2 separate regions of the Homo sapiens genome follow, and region 2 is linked to region 1. Evidence: promoter capture Hi-C in human tissues and cell types (Jung and others, 2019). All regions are on one chromosome and are shown on one strand. The core of a region is centred on a gene start or on the middle of the fragment in contact, and the rest is flanking DNA. Distances in the headings are between cores, read along the strand shown.

Region 1 (2,947 bases), core at 153-2,652:
TAGATTCCCTTGGTCATGCAAGATGAACTCTTGAACCCCACGCTACATAATGCACCCGGACCTTAAAGGCCGAGATGGAGAAGCATGCTTTGGTTCTTCAACCTTTACGGCCTTCACTACCCCCACCCCAACCCCCGCCCCATTTCTTCCCAACTCTCAGTCACCCCGAGGCATAGAAGGCAAAGAAAGATTCCTTACTTCCTGCTGTTGTTAAAAGGGGAGGAAACCTAAGAGCAACTTTGAACGCGTGGAAGAAAAATCGCCTAAATCTTGGCCACCAGCGCAAACATATGTCACCCGGCCCTGGAGCCGCGTTCGCGCCCTGCCGGGCCCCCTCTTCTGCCCTGCGCCCCGGGGATTCTCCCGTAGCCCAGCCCTCCCGGGCCCCCCAGTGTCTCCGGGACGCGGTTCCGCGACTCTTCCTCTCCCGCCTCCGCAACCCTCACACGCCGGAGTCCCCAAGACCGCATTGTCGGCCACCCAGGTTCCAATACAATGGATCGCCACTGCCCCAAACTCTCCGGCGCCCCCTTCGGACCCCCGGCGCCAATCCTGGGTCTCACAGATCCCGAGTTCAGCCACGAGCCCAAACTTCACCATGTGAGAGCCCAGGACCCAAGAGGTGACGGAGCCCCACGACTCCCGCCCAGCTATTCCTTCACCCGCCGTCCCCAGGCGCGAATCCTGCACCGGGCGCCCCCACCTACCCGCGACCACCCCGTAGGAGTCATCAGCCGCCTCCCCCGAGCTGGCCGAGGGCGAGCGGAGGGCTCCCCGCCCGGCCCAGACCTCTGGGCGGCGCTGCAACCGAGCGAAGGCCCCAAACGCATCCCCGGCCTTTCCTGGTCCACCGCGACCCCGCCGCCCACCCTCCCTACCTGGCCTTGAGGCTGGGGCTGCTGCCGCTACTGCAGCTGCCACTGCTGCAGCTGCTGCTGGCGGCGGCGGCGGCGGCTCGGGGTTCGTACGCCCAGGCTGGGGCGGGGGGCTGCGCAGCGGCGCTGGCGGGGACGGGGGCGGCGGGGGGCGCGGGCGGCGGCGGCGGCGGCGGCTCGGTGAAGCCCGAGGTCGCGTAGTTCCTGTCCATCGTGGGGGTGGCGTAGGGAGGGCGGGCAGCAGCGGGGGATCCTCCAGGGCTCCGTGTGACGGGGGCGGGCAGGGAGAGGGGGCGGGGGAGGAAGAGGGGGCGGCGGCGGTGGAGGGAGCTGCCCCCTCACATGGCCCCGGCGAGCAGGCGGGAGAAGGGCGCGCTGGCGAGTCTGGGCCGCAAAGACCCGGGCCGCGGCGGGCGGCGAGGCCCCAGCTGGGCGTCAGGGAAGCGGAGGCACCCGCGGCCGGGACTCGCGGCGACGGCGGCGGCGGCGGCGGCCGCTGCGCCCCATGTTGGTGGATTTCCCAGGATGCACCTCCCGCCCCCCTCCGCCCCGCGGCCTTGCCCCGCCTCCCCTCTGAGCCCCGCGCTTGCCGCTCGCGGGGCTGGCGGGCGGCCGCGAGGCCTCCGCCACCGCAGGACGCTTCGCGAGGGACAGTTGGGGCCGAGAAGGCGCGGGTCCTGCGGGGCCCGGCCGACTTCAGGGACTCCGAGGGGCGCCCGCCAGCCGGAGCCCGCGAACCGCAGACTTCCCGCCTTCCGCAGCCCGGAAGGGAGCTGTCCGCACTCGCCGCGGCCCGCGTGGGAAGGGACCGCGCCTGGCTATCGCCCCGCGCGGGGGAGGGGAAGTGGAGTGGAACCCAGCGTAGGGCGCTGCTCAGGGGTAGCCGGGTCAACGCTTTGCTTGGAGCTCACTATTTGACCCTTCGGGTTATTTTGAGGGACTCCAGTACTCAGTTCCCTGATCGCGATTTCTTTCTCTGCGCCCCAATCCAGAAACAGCTGAGCGAGCTCTTTTGCAGTTCCGCTTACTCCCTCCCCAAAGCTTGCTGGGCTAGAGGACCCTTTTCCTGCTGTTAGGGGAGATTTATATTCAAAGAGATTCAAATTCAAACGTATTATTTTCCAATCCTCGCTGAAAGGGCCTTTCCCAAGGGCTCTTATTAACTGTCCCCACCCCCACCTTGGGGATTTTTCTCGCTCTGGGTTTCAGAATCTTCTATCCCAAGATAGATAACCACCTCTTCATTGATTAATCCAACTACCATCTGGATGACTTTAATTACAATAAATTTAAACTCACCATGCACTCTGATGTTGAGGGGTTTTGTTTGAGACTTGGAACTTCAGCAGGACTCTCTCCCCAAACATTTCCTATCTGATCTCCAAGCTGCTTGGTGTGCGGTAATTTAATGACTATTTGCGGTTCTTCTGTTGCATAGCAGAGTTGTATTTCTTGTAATAACTCACAAGTATTGAAACTAGGGAATCGTACAAATCATCGTTTGGCCCTTGGGCCATAAATTTAAAGGTTAAAATAACAGTAAAATTTCTATTTAATGACCACCTCCTTTTAAAAATCAATATTGGTTTAACACCTATTATGTGCTTAGCACAGAAATCTATCCCTCAAGATAAGCATAACATAAAGGTTTAAGCAAATCAGCCGTAGTGAAAGACCTAATAAACTTGATACGCTATCTCTGATGACCATTGAAAAAGTTTAAACTTTGGTAATAATCTGGTGTTGGATCTGCTATGCCTTGCGAGATTAATTTTGTTCTGGAAGATCCTGTTTTCCTCCTGGCGCCTACATCCTTTTGTTCCTATTCATTCCTTTTTGCAAGTCTTTCTGCACCTGTGATGCTTGGAGCCTGGTCCCCGGGTGGGGAAGCAAGGAAGTGAGTAGTCGTTATTTACACATGAATTCAAACGTGTAGGCACAGCGACTTTGCCAATTTTATGTTAATTACAAAATGCATTTACTGAGGATATCTTTGAAAAGTGGTTTTTCTTTGAAAAGGAATTTGCGAACTAATCTGAGTTCATGCAGAGAAGTAACGTAAATCTTCATTA
Region 2 (2,947 bases), core at 332-2,831, 1.2 Mb before region 1:
CGTCTCTACTAAAAATACAAAACTTAGCCGGGAGTGGTAGTGGAGCTGCAGGAGAGGCTGAGGCAAGAGAATCACTTGAATCCGGTAGGCGGAAGTTGCAGTGAGCCGAGATGGTGTGCCATTGCACTCCAGCCTAGGCGACAGAGTGAGACTCCGTCTCAAAAAAAAAAAAAAAAAAGTTCTGTGATTACCTACAGTAAAATACTGCATCATCCCAATAAATACATCAAAAAAACCATCAGAAATATCACTGTAAAAGTAACATGCTACTTAGATGTAAAAGTGACATGCTACTTAGAAACTCTGGTACCTACTGCATTATAAACATAAAGCTCATTTACTGAAACTTACCATACCTTAACTGTCCCTTCTAACCTTCCAATCCAAACAGATTTTAGCATATGTCTTACTATAAAACACTAAGTCACTGTCAAGGACCCCAATTTATACGTAAAGGAGAAAGTATAAAGAATTCAAATATCCCGAGGCAGAAAAACGACAGACAGAATTCACACTCAAGTCTTCCTGACTCCAAAGCCTGAGCTCTTCCCAGTTCGCCAATCTTCCCAACTTGTAAACCTTGTGTTGCCGGCCACATAAAGATCCCGCAAAAATCAATCAACAACTAATTAATGGGGGCTGCCTTTTGCTCTAGCTACTGTGGGAGCCCCAGAAGTAGTACCACAAGGCCCTTGACTTCAAGCTTGCATTCTTCTTGAAGAAGGTATTTAAGAGAATGAGATGAGGAACAAGAACACAGGTAAAATTAGATGTAAAAAAAAAAAAAATAGCTATACTGAGGGACCGGTCAGATGAAGGAAGGGCTGAGATTACTATGGGCTGAAGCTGTCATGGAAGGCCTGGATGGGGAAGGCCTTGAAGGAGATGATTATTTTTCGCTCACTCATTCGTCTATCTACACATAACATCTATGTGGCAGGCACCATTTTAGGTGCACTGGCAAACAAAACCAAGTCCTGAATGTGACTGCTGAATAAAGAGTATAAAGGAATGTGCACAGTGAAGGATTTAAGAACGTGGAAGGATCTGGAATCAGATTACCCTAAGTATAATGCCCAGACCTGCAGCCAGGCACTGCGGGCAAGCTCCACGGAAAACAACTGTTGTCACCCACCCATTCACCCCGACTCCCCAGTTACAGGCACTACTTAGAGGTGGTTATCGAGCCACGCAAATCCCCGAGGACGCTCGAGAAGCACGCGCCGAGAGCGGCTGCGTATTGGAGAGGTGATTCTGTTATCTTGGAGCGCCCCAAAAGAGGGGTGGAGGACAAACGGCGTAGGCCAGGTATCCGTCCGGATGCAGAGCCTTCATCCTGAGGCCGGTCCCCTCTCGACCCAGGAAGAACACAGACACCGATCTTGGCATCCATACCCGGCCCTCCCGCGTTGGGTACCTGCGCCCCGAGCCCGGGGGATCCCAGCCAGTGGAGAAGGGGAAGCACGTGGGAGCACGGAACAACTCCGAAAGAGAAGGCACAGCTGACTGCCCCTAGCGTATGCCTGGTGTCCGGGTCACGTAGTAAGCCTGGCTCCGCGGCACGCGTCCCTCTCAGGAACTGGTAGACAGCACGTGCGCAAGCGCATTAAAGTCGCAGAGATGGCGAGCGAGAAGGGACCTTCCTCAAGGCTGTCGCTGAGTAATGACGTAAGCCACCAGAAGCGGAGCTGAGGCCTAGATGTCCACTGCGGTTGCGCATTTTAGTCCCACTGCTCGCGGTAGCTGGGTGTTGGCTGCGGTTTGCCTCTTCACTCTTCATATCCCAGCTAAAGTACCTCGGCTAAGAAGGGCAAAATAGATGTCCGCACCCCAGGGCCTGCCCACGTAGGTCCAGGGTTTTCAGCGTCAGCCTGGTTACGCGAAACGCGACGGATCCAACGATTTGTGTTCAATTTAACCGATCCCCGTTAAGTTGAGGAAACTCGGCCAACAGACCTATTTTATTGGTTTCGCTTGGCCCTCCACCCCCACAGTACTGATCTTACAGATGGGAATCCTGTAATCTACCCATGACTGCGGCCGCTGTACTTTGCAGGCTCCCATTAGGCCTGTATATGGTCGTCAAATGAAATTACTCCCCCTGGGCTTCCAGTGAACTCCAAGAACATGACTACAGGGACAACCTATACATAGTGTTGCATTCTTGACTTTGGGGCAGATCGCTGAACTTCAAAAAACATTATCAACTGCTTGATGTTTCCTCCTGGATACCGCAAATGTCTGAATCCAAACCCCTTCCCCAGATACACTTTTAATGTCATCAGCAGCACTACCCATTTAATCCAACATCCATCATGAAATTTTTTAGTTCATTCAGCAAAATGTGAATATGCCCACGCACTATTCTGCTCACAAGGGATAGTGTCCAAAATGTTCCTGCCCCTCGTGGTTAATTCTAGGTTAAGTTTTAAATGCTATTAAGCAGAAGTATCCAGTGAGTAAAGTGACTAAGGATACTATTTTAGAAACGAACACTGAAGGCCTCTGACGGGGTGACACTGGATGGAACAAGGACCTGAAATTTAGAAAGAATGAGCCCTGAGAATATGAGTGAAAAACTTCCCCGTGCCAAAGATGTACATACAAAAGCTCCAAGATGGGGGAGTCCTGGCAAAGCAGTCAGTGTGGCCAAAGCAGTGGGCAAGTGAAGGACCAGATTTAGAATTTAATTCTAGTCATGATGAGAAACCACTGGAGTTTGTGGGGGACAGGGAAATGAGAAAATCTGCTTTGCCCTCTTAAAAGGCTTCCTGTTATGCAAAAACTAAATCACAGGAAGGCAAAAGTAGAAAAAGGAGAACAATTATAAGCTATTGTAGTCACCTGTGCTAGGATGGTAGTTGTGGTAGTAGTTAGAAGTATAAGATAACTCTGGATATTCAAGTTAGAACCACGTGGACTCACTTAAGGATTAGATGCAGGTTAT

What was found. The method cuts DNA at HindIII sites, captures the fragments that hold promoters and counts their contacts. A contact is called where the count stands out against the background at its distance.
Region 2: a contact is called between the fragment with the promoter of NAT10 here and the fragment with the promoter of QSER1 in region 1, in 1 of the 25 tissues and cell types used here (hippocampus).

Annotation. Positions count from the first base shown.
Region 1 is chr11:32,891,266-32,894,212 of GRCh38, reverse strand. QSER1 (glutamine and serine rich 1) reads right to left here and starts at 1,402. Exons shown (of 13, transcript NM_001076786.3): 1 at 879-1,402. The coding sequence starts at 1,087. RefSeq lists silencers at 630-1,029, 1,110-1,729 and an enhancer at 2,477-2,947. The HindIII fragment of the contact is 5,594 bases long and covers 1-2,947 here.
Region 2 is chr11:34,104,263-34,107,209 of GRCh38, reverse strand. It overlaps NAT10 (N-acetyltransferase 10), which reads right to left and starts at 1,581. Exons shown (of 29, transcript NM_024662.3): 1 at 1,418-1,581. RefSeq lists an enhancer at 1,369-1,828. The HindIII fragment of the contact is 6,988 bases long and covers 1-2,947 here.